3 separate regions of the Homo sapiens genome follow, and all the other regions are linked to region 3. Evidence: promoter capture Hi-C in 16 types of primary human blood cells and fetal thymus (Javierre and others, 2016). All regions are on one chromosome and are shown on one strand. Each heading gives the region's core, a stretch centred on a gene start or on the middle of the fragment in contact. The rest is flanking DNA. Distances are from core to core; before and after follow the strand shown.

Region 1 (2,700 bases), core at 143-2,642, 650 kb after region 3:
CTTTACAGTTCAAGAAGTGGAACAATCTACACCTTACATGATTTGCACCGAAGACCTTGACGGGGACAGTCAGCACTTCAGTGGCTTATCACATAGACTGCTTGTTGGATCCTATCTTTGAAAGGGTTGTGTTAAAAATTGAACTCATGTTTCATTTTTTAAGTGTGATTTAGGTTCAGTCCTAAATAAAACAATGATATGTGCTTAGTTCTGCAATAACAAAGTCAAGTGTCCTTAGCTGAAGGACCACAAAACCACCATTGCACCTATGATTCAGGCCCATAAGTGAAGGACGGTCTTGCGCCCTAGCATTGTGACCCTGTCAGTCTTTGGGATGCTTTTGGTCATAGATAATTGAGAACAAACCTATTTGGAACATCTCATTCTCTTGTTCATGTCTCTGGAGGCTTCATTCTCCAGAATGGGAAGCAAATCCCCTAGCCAGCCCGAATGCCTCTCTTCCAGGATCTATACAGGAGAAAGACCAGAATTTTCCAAGCACCTGGCCTTTTTTTCTGAGTGCTTGTATGTTTCTATCATTGACCTAAATGATAGGATGAAATTAGAAGTGACACCAACAAAGTTTTGGTTTATGATGAAAGAGCACTTGTTAGTACTGAAGGACTGAGTGCGCCCCCACCACCATTCCTATTTTCAGAGCTGAGCATCATCTTAAATAATGTAATGCTATGATCCTAACTGATTGATTCTCTTGACAAAAAGAGTGAGTTAATGTATCCCTATTATCAGAGAAGAGAGTGGACAGTACAAGAAGAGGAAGTGAGTGGGGCAAAGGTGTTAGCATAGTCCCACTGAGACACATGAGGCTCCTCACACCTCAGTCCTTGTTCTTGCGGTGAGCATGGGCTGAGAGTCTCCATATGGACAGAGTGGCAAGCTGTGACCTCTGGCCCACAGGGACTCACTGGCCACCAGACCCTGGCTCTGTCCCCATCCTCTCAGCTCCTTACCTCCTCCATGTGCCTTGTAGACAGCTACAGGAGAGACAGAAAATTCACAGGCACAGATTGCTCTGATGGTCACCAGAAATTCCAGTGAGAATAGGGACAGGATGACAGAAGTTACTTGACAAGTGGAAATCAGCGTGGCCCAGGCATCTGGAGGGAGTTCCCTGACATCTCTGAGCTGCACAGCCACCTGGTCCAGGACATGCACGTACATGTTCCCCAAGTGAGCTAGAATGGTAGGGGTGCCAAAAGTTTCCAGAAGCTGCTGGTAATCCATCCTGGTCCGGGTGACTCCAGCCGGCAGTGACCCTGGAGTTAGGGGGTGCTCTACAGCCAGGCTGGCTACATGATTTGCAGGGCCCAGTGCAAAATGAACATGCAGGAAATGCAGAGACCTCCCTCTGCAGTCACTCTGTTGACCTGCCATGGTGTTTTTCGTTTGCTATTCCATGTCTTGCTTCAGGAACAGACCTGCGTGGGTGTGTGGACCCATGCCTTGTGACGTGGCACAAGGTGTGCATCCAGCCCAACCCTCCCTGTGCCCATCTCTGATGGGGAGTGCAGCTGCACTTTCTGGGCAGGGTCGGGGAGTGGGCTGCCAATGGCCCATTATTGGATGGACCCTGCAGGAGGATGCAGCCTCCACTGTCCCATCAGACTTAGCTTACAAAACATAAATTCTAAGATAGTTGTTGAGAACTTCAAGACATCCCCACGTGCAGGGCCTTCAGAGTGTGGGCCTTGTACATTTGCACTGGCCACCTGCCTGTGGAGCTACCGGGACTCCAGCACAAGGTGTCTGAGCCAGACTTCAGCATGTGGAAGCCAGGTGTCAGGGGCTTCAGGTGAGGCATGAATGGCCCCCTCTGGCATGCAGCTTTCATGTCTAGATGTGCACCTGGGAGCCCCTTGCACCCCTGACCCTGGCTTTTATTCCATCCTGGAGGAGTTTGCCATGGGCTGTGAGGATCTTAGATCCAAGGTCCACCCTGGGAGGGTGGCAAGGGTTCTCACAGGCCACGCAGTCATTTGCTGAGGCCTTTGAGGTTCTTTACTGAGGAATCAACAGAGGCAGATAACATTTCCTATGCTGACACGGGTCCCTTGTCACAGTTGAGCGTGCTTGAATTATTAAGCTCAGAGATTCCCCCTGGGAGTGAGGGGAGGACACCATTGTGGGGAGCAGGGGGAGGCTTAAGGAAGCCCAGGATGTTCTCAGGCTGCAGTAGCAAACCCTGAGACCCCATAAGAGTGCATAGGAAAGGCTGCTGAAGTTAGAGCCCAAGTTCATCCAGACATCTCTGACTCGCCTCTGAGCAGCTGTGACCTGGCGTGCCTGTGTCCACAGGCTTCCTTGTTCAGCCCTTGCTCTCTAAAGTACAGGGCATGTTTGGCTTGGTGACGACGCCACAGGCTGTCCATGTTGCCCTCTTGAAATGCCCCCTCACCCTGCCCCTCCCCAGCCTAGGCTGTGTGTCCAGCAGCAGCCATGAGCCCCCTGCTTACAGACGGAATGAAGGAAACAGGGCAGAGAGGGCACATTGCAAGTCTGTGGAGAAGCAGCCACAAGGGGTGCGACATGAGTAGATCACAGAACAGAAGGGAAACAGAGAGTGAGGGAAGGTGAGATGGAGGGAAGCCAGCAGCCCACGTGAGAAACGGGCAGGGAGGGAGGGAAGATGGTGGAACCCAGTTAGGTCTGTCCCGAAGCCTTGAGGGGGCTTTCCTGGGA
Region 2 (2,700 bases), core at 29-2,528, 580 kb after region 3:
AGTTACGTGAGGGATCCTCTGGGCAGAAGTGTGTACCCTTACATGTCCACACTCTTCTGGGCCACCGGTATACTTTAGTGAATTGTTCTAGCACACTACTCTCATATTGGCCCTGGCCTATCCTACCTTCTGCGTGAAGCCACATTTGCAAATGGTTAATAAAGTATCTGTTGCCTAGTCATCACTTACTCAAACCCTCCGTAACTTCTCCCAGTGTTTGCACCCAAGTCAAACATCCAGCCATTGCTTCCATCTGCAAGGCAGTGCTGTGAGTTGGGCCATGGTCTGGTCACTTCAAATATGCAGGCTTGCCGACACTTTGAGGATGAAGTACTCAGGAAGGGAGGCCAAGCTCAGCAGAATAGGCTCTGAGGAAAATCCAGGTGATGCTCTCCATAGTAAGTTATGAAGATATTTCCTACCGGTCCCTCCAGTTTTCCTCTCCACCCCCTCCCATCCTCCTTCCCCACACTGACTATAGCAGCGGCTCCCTTGCCTTCTGCCTTCTAACTGGATTCAGCTAACAGGGTGTAGGTGGGTGATCCCTGGCAGGAGGAGAGGGTAGAGGTGCCTACTCCCATCACATGGCTCTCTCCACAAGACCTCCATGTCTAGGTTACCAGCAGCCACTTCCTCCTTTGCCCCTTCAGGTCTTGGATATATTGGTTCCCACTGTTGCTGGCCCTAGAGAACTGCACTAGCTTTAGTTGATTTTTCTAAATTTGTGGTCTCTACTTTTGTAAATAATCTTCATTTTTCCCTTTTGATGAGGGACTCTTGAGTTTGATTTTCTCTCTTTGTAGAATATCTGATTTTATTAGAGGGAACAAGTGAATATAAGCTAGAATCACTTTTTTCAGATGAGGACTTCCTGCTTCAAATTTGGTGCCAGCCTTTCTGAGGATGTGTTTCATTTCATAAGTAGTAAAATACTTCTTCAGCAAACGCAATCTTCTGGTGCATGTCTCCACCCAAAGTCACCTCTCCTGCACTTACAAACCCTGTTAACGTGTAGGCAGGTCAGCTACTGGGCAAGAGGAATGGACAGTAGAGAAGAGGTGATGCCACACAACAAGCTGAACTGCCCAGGTTCCACATGGACAAGTTTGATGAAAAATATTTTCCACATTATATAAACTTCACTCTCTATTCTAGTGGCAGACTATATATCTGATAATTCAGATTAAATTTCATATTTTTACCCCAAGCTATTTTCTATGTGTCTCCATTTTTTATTAATCTTCCCAAAAATGATATATAGCGTCACTATGACTTTGAACTAATCAATACTCTTATTTTCAATGTGAAAAGTTCAATGACAAGACATTTAGTGTGTTTTTTAAAAAGACATCTTTTTTATTGTAGTAAGAACACTTCACATGAGATCTACCCTTTTAATAGATTTTTAAGTGCACAAGACAATGTTGTTAATTATAGGCACCATGCTGTACAGCAGATCTCGAACCTACTCATCTTGTGTAACAAAACTTTATACCCTTTGAACAGTACCTCCACCCCAGCCCCTGGAAGCCGCCATTTCACTATTTCTATGAGTTTGGCTATTTTGGATTCCTCATATAAGTGAAAAACACAGTATTTGTACTTCTGTGACTGGCTTATTTCACCTAACATAATGTCCTCCAGGTTCGTCCATGTTGTCACATACACAAGATTTTCTCTTTTTTAGGGCTGAAAAATATTGCATTGTGTGCGTAGATCACATTTTCTTTATCCATTCATCCACTGATGGACAATTCCGTTGATTTCATATCTTACACATTGAATACTGCAATGAAAGGGGGAGTGCAAATATCTCTTCAAGATCTGATTTCAGTTTTTCTGCATATATACCCAGTAGTGGGATTTCTGGATAATATGATAGTTCTATTTTTAATTTTTTGAGGGACCTCCATACTGTTTTTTATAGTGGCCGCACCATTTTATGTTTCTTCCAGTCTTGCACAGGAGCTCCAATTTCCTCACATTTTTTCCAGCACTTGCTATCTTTTTTTAAAATAATGGCCGTTTTAGCAGATGTGAGGTAATATCTCATTGTGGTTTTGATTTGGATTTCCCTGATGATTAGTAATGTTGGCATCTTTTCATATTCTTGTTGGCCATTTGCATGTCTTCTTTAGAGAAATGTTTATTCAAGTATTTTACCCACTTTTTAATTGGGTTATTAGGATTTTTTGCTATTGAGTTTTAGGAATTTCTTATATATCTGCATATCAGATATATGGCTTGAAAATATTTTCTCCCCTTCTGTAGGTTGGCTTTTTATTCTAGGAATAAACTTAACTAAGGATGAAAGACTTATACAATGAAAACTACAAAACATTAATGAAGGAAAAAAGACACAACTAAATAGAAAGACATTACTTACTCATGGAATGCAAGGCATAATATTGTTACAATGTCCATACTACCCAAAGTGATCTACAGATTCAATTCAATCCCTATCAATATCCCAATCACAGTTTTTACACAAGTAGAAAAAAGCAAACCTAAAATTTATATGAAAAAAACCCAAATAGCCAAAACATATTGAAAAAGAAGAACAAATCTAGAGGCATCATTTTTTTTTCTGATTTCAAAATATATTACAAAGCTGCAGTAATCAAAACACTACAGTACTGACATGAAGACATAGACATATAGACCAATGGAACCGAATAGAGAGACCAGAAATAGACCACA
Region 3 (2,700 bases), core at 20-2,519:
TCCAGCAGGCTGTTCCTGGATGGACCCTAATACCTGGATCGCACATGAAAACTTGGATTTGGTGCCTACTTCTAGACTGCTGTTTCGTCTCGTTTATTTTCTAGACAAACTGTGCTGCTCCATGGCAGTAGCATCAATATGTCTTTTGTTTCGTGGCGCTACCTAGGGATTTAAATTCAAACCGTATCACAAAATACAATAAAGGTTTATTTACAGCACATTGGTTTCATTTGACGTTCCTGTACCGGACTACCCTGGCAATCGGCTAAAGTTTTGTCAGCAAGTTTGCTGCTGGGATTTTTCTTATTTGGTTCAGTTTACTACAGCCTATCGTAAGTGATGCAGATGGAGTTAGTTTCTAACATGTGAACGTGAGAACTGTTTTGGTTTGGGTCCATCATTAAAACTGAAGAAGATTATTTGGGTTCGATGGTGTAGATTTTTGACTTTTATTTCTAGTTTCTGTGTGCTTTGTCATATTTCCCCTTGCTTCCTAGACGAGGTGTGTTTCCTTATCTGATTTTGCATCACTGGAGAGAACTCAGGAAGCAGGAGAGGCTGAATTGGATACCACGGGGAATGCAGCCCTGCCAACAGAGGACTGGATAGAATTAGAGCAAACGGACACATCCCCCCACGCCTGTTCTCCACAGGGCAGATTTTATTAATATATTTCTAACATTGGGGCCTCGTTTCAGTCTTCAAGTTTTTTCTTTTTTAGCGCAAACTAGACGCGCTCTGAGAGCCAAAATTAGCGTCCGCGAACCCCACCCCATTGCCTCCAACAGACCTAGCTCTCCTTTCCACCCTCAAACAGCCGTTACTACAGTTCCCAGCAAGCACCGCGCAGGGCCGCAAAGGGCCAGGCCCTCGGCGAAGGCCCCGCCCCGCAGGGGGCATGCCGGGAGTTGTAGTGAGTGGGCGCTTCCCTACTACTACTTGTCCCTTCCACTGGGCATTCCCACTTGGAAGAGTGTGATGCGCTGCCAGAGCAGTTTCTCTAGTTCCGTACTCGGAGCTCAAGGTGACAGAGGACTGCGCTTCCAGCCCTGCGCTGCGCATCGCGTCGGTCCCGCGGACCTTTGCCCCGCCTCCTTCCACACCCGTTCCCTTGACAGCTGGGCTGCGCTCCGGGCCGCGGCAAGCCGCGAGCGCGCAGGCGCAGCAGCCCCGCGCCGCGCTAGGCCGGCCTGGAGGGCGGGACAAGCGCTAGAAGCTCCCGGCCGGGGGCGCGCACGTAGGCACGCAGAGGCCGTCACGTGGGTCGCCGAGGCTCGCAAGTGCGCGTGGCCGTGGCGGCTGGTGTGGGGTTGAGTCAGTTGTGGGACCCGGAGCTGCTGACCCAGCGGGTGGCCCACCGAACCGGTGACACAGCGGCAGGCGTTAGGGCTCGGGAGCCGCGAGCCTGGCCTCGTCCTAGAGCTCGGCCGAGCCGTCGCCGCCGTCGTCCCCCGCCCCCAGTCAGCAAACCGCCGCCGCGGGCGCGCCCCCGCTCTGCGCTGTCTCTCCGATGGCGTCCGCCTCAGGGGCCATGGCGAAGCACGAGCAGATCCTGGTCCTCGATCCGCCCACAGACCTCAAATTCAAAGGTAGGCAGAACGGGGACACCCCCGGGTGGGGTGGGGCGCGCGGACCGCTGGCTGTCGGCGGGGGGGCGCGGAGGGCACGTCCGCGGCCCTGGCCCGAGGGAGCGCCCCCTCCCCCACGCCCCGGCGCCTTCCCTTTCCCGGCTGCTTTCTTGCCGCCACCTCGGCCGGCCTGCCCCTTGCTCCGGCCCGCTTCATCCCCTCCCGCCCGCCCTCGCTGCGGTGCGCGCGCCGGCCGGGGCGAGGCGGAGGGGAGCCCGGCCCTGGCGCCGCCGCCGCCGCCATCTTGCGGTCCCGCGGGGGCGCCTCCTGGGCGTCCGGTCCCGCCCGCGCCGCGGTCCGCCTGGGCCCGCGTCCTTGGCCCCAGAGGCCGACGGCGTGCTTCGGCGGGGCGTGGGCGGCTGGGCACCCGAGGGCGTGCGCTCTGGGCTGCGGCGGGGAGTGGGCTCTGGAGGTGGCGCAAGCTGCGTCTGTCGCCCGCTCCCGGCTGTCAGCGGCGCGGGGAGGCTAGGGCACGGCGCGGGACCCCTTGGGAGTGAGAGCCGCCCCCCGACCCCTGCCCCGGCCCGGGGAGAGCTCGCTGCAGCCGGCCCTCGGGTTCCGCGGAGGGCGTCGCTTGTCACCTTTCCGCCAGGTTTAGAACTCGGCCGTCAGGTGTAGGACGCGCCGGGGAGGTGGAGAGTCCTTGGAGGTGCCTGGCGAGGGCTGCCCGGTGCTGTTGGCACGGACCCAGGTGCGTGCGGGCAGGAGCGATGCGTCAGCCGCAAACGGAGAGTTGTAGGTTCATAGTAGCGGGGCTTCCTGCCTTCTACGACATTTCAGTGTGCCACCCGCGTGCTTTTATTTAGCCCTTTAGTTGAGCTCCTCTGCTGAGAAACCTTCAGTGCGTGTGACTTTTTTGCTTTTACGTTTGCGGTTTCCGACAGATCCTGAGAAGGCTGATAAGGTGTCACCCAGCTCTGGAACTTTGTAGGTTTTTGTAGTACTGCCTGTGATAAGTTTTTTAGTCTGACTTGGTGATCCTGGAAGAATCCCAGGGGCTTTTGGTCGGTTTCCTTGTCAATATGTAGTGTACTTTAGGAAAGAGAGTTAAAATGTACAGATTTTTATTTTT

What was found. Contacts are between HindIII fragments. The CHiCAGO score rates a contact against its expected background, and 5 or more counts as called.
Region 1: a fragment that was not itself captured here is called in contact with the fragment with the promoter of VAPA in region 3 in 1 of 17 cell types (fetal thymus); the score reaches 5.8 in fetal thymus.
Region 2: a contact is called between a fragment that was not itself captured here and the fragment with the promoter of VAPA in region 3, in 1 of 17 cell types (total B cells). The highest score is 7.5, in total B cells.

Annotation. Positions count from the first base shown.
Region 1 is chr18:10,557,666-10,560,365 of GRCh38, forward strand. No RefSeq gene overlaps it. Among named protein-coding and RNA genes, the nearest start is that of NAPG, 33 kb to the left of the region's middle. RefSeq lists an enhancer at 2,337-2,396. The HindIII fragment of the contact is 3,185 bases long and covers 1-2,700 here.
Region 2 is chr18:10,494,068-10,496,767 of GRCh38, forward strand. No RefSeq gene overlaps it. Among named protein-coding and RNA genes, the nearest start is that of NAPG, 31 kb to the right of the region's middle. The HindIII fragment of the contact is 3,484 bases long and covers 1-2,700 here.
Region 3 is chr18:9,912,747-9,915,446 of GRCh38, forward strand. VAPA (VAMP associated protein A) reads left to right here and starts at 1,270. Exons shown (of 6, transcript NM_194434.3): 1 at 1,270-1,589. The coding sequence starts at 1,511. It overlaps LOC124904245 (a long non-coding RNA gene), which reads right to left and starts at 1,202. Exons shown (of 2, transcript XR_007066284.1): 1 at 966-1,202; 2 at 187-587. RefSeq lists silencers at 1,205-1,254, 1,465-2,254 and an enhancer at 1,772-2,389. The HindIII fragment of the contact is 3,402 bases long and covers 1-2,700 here.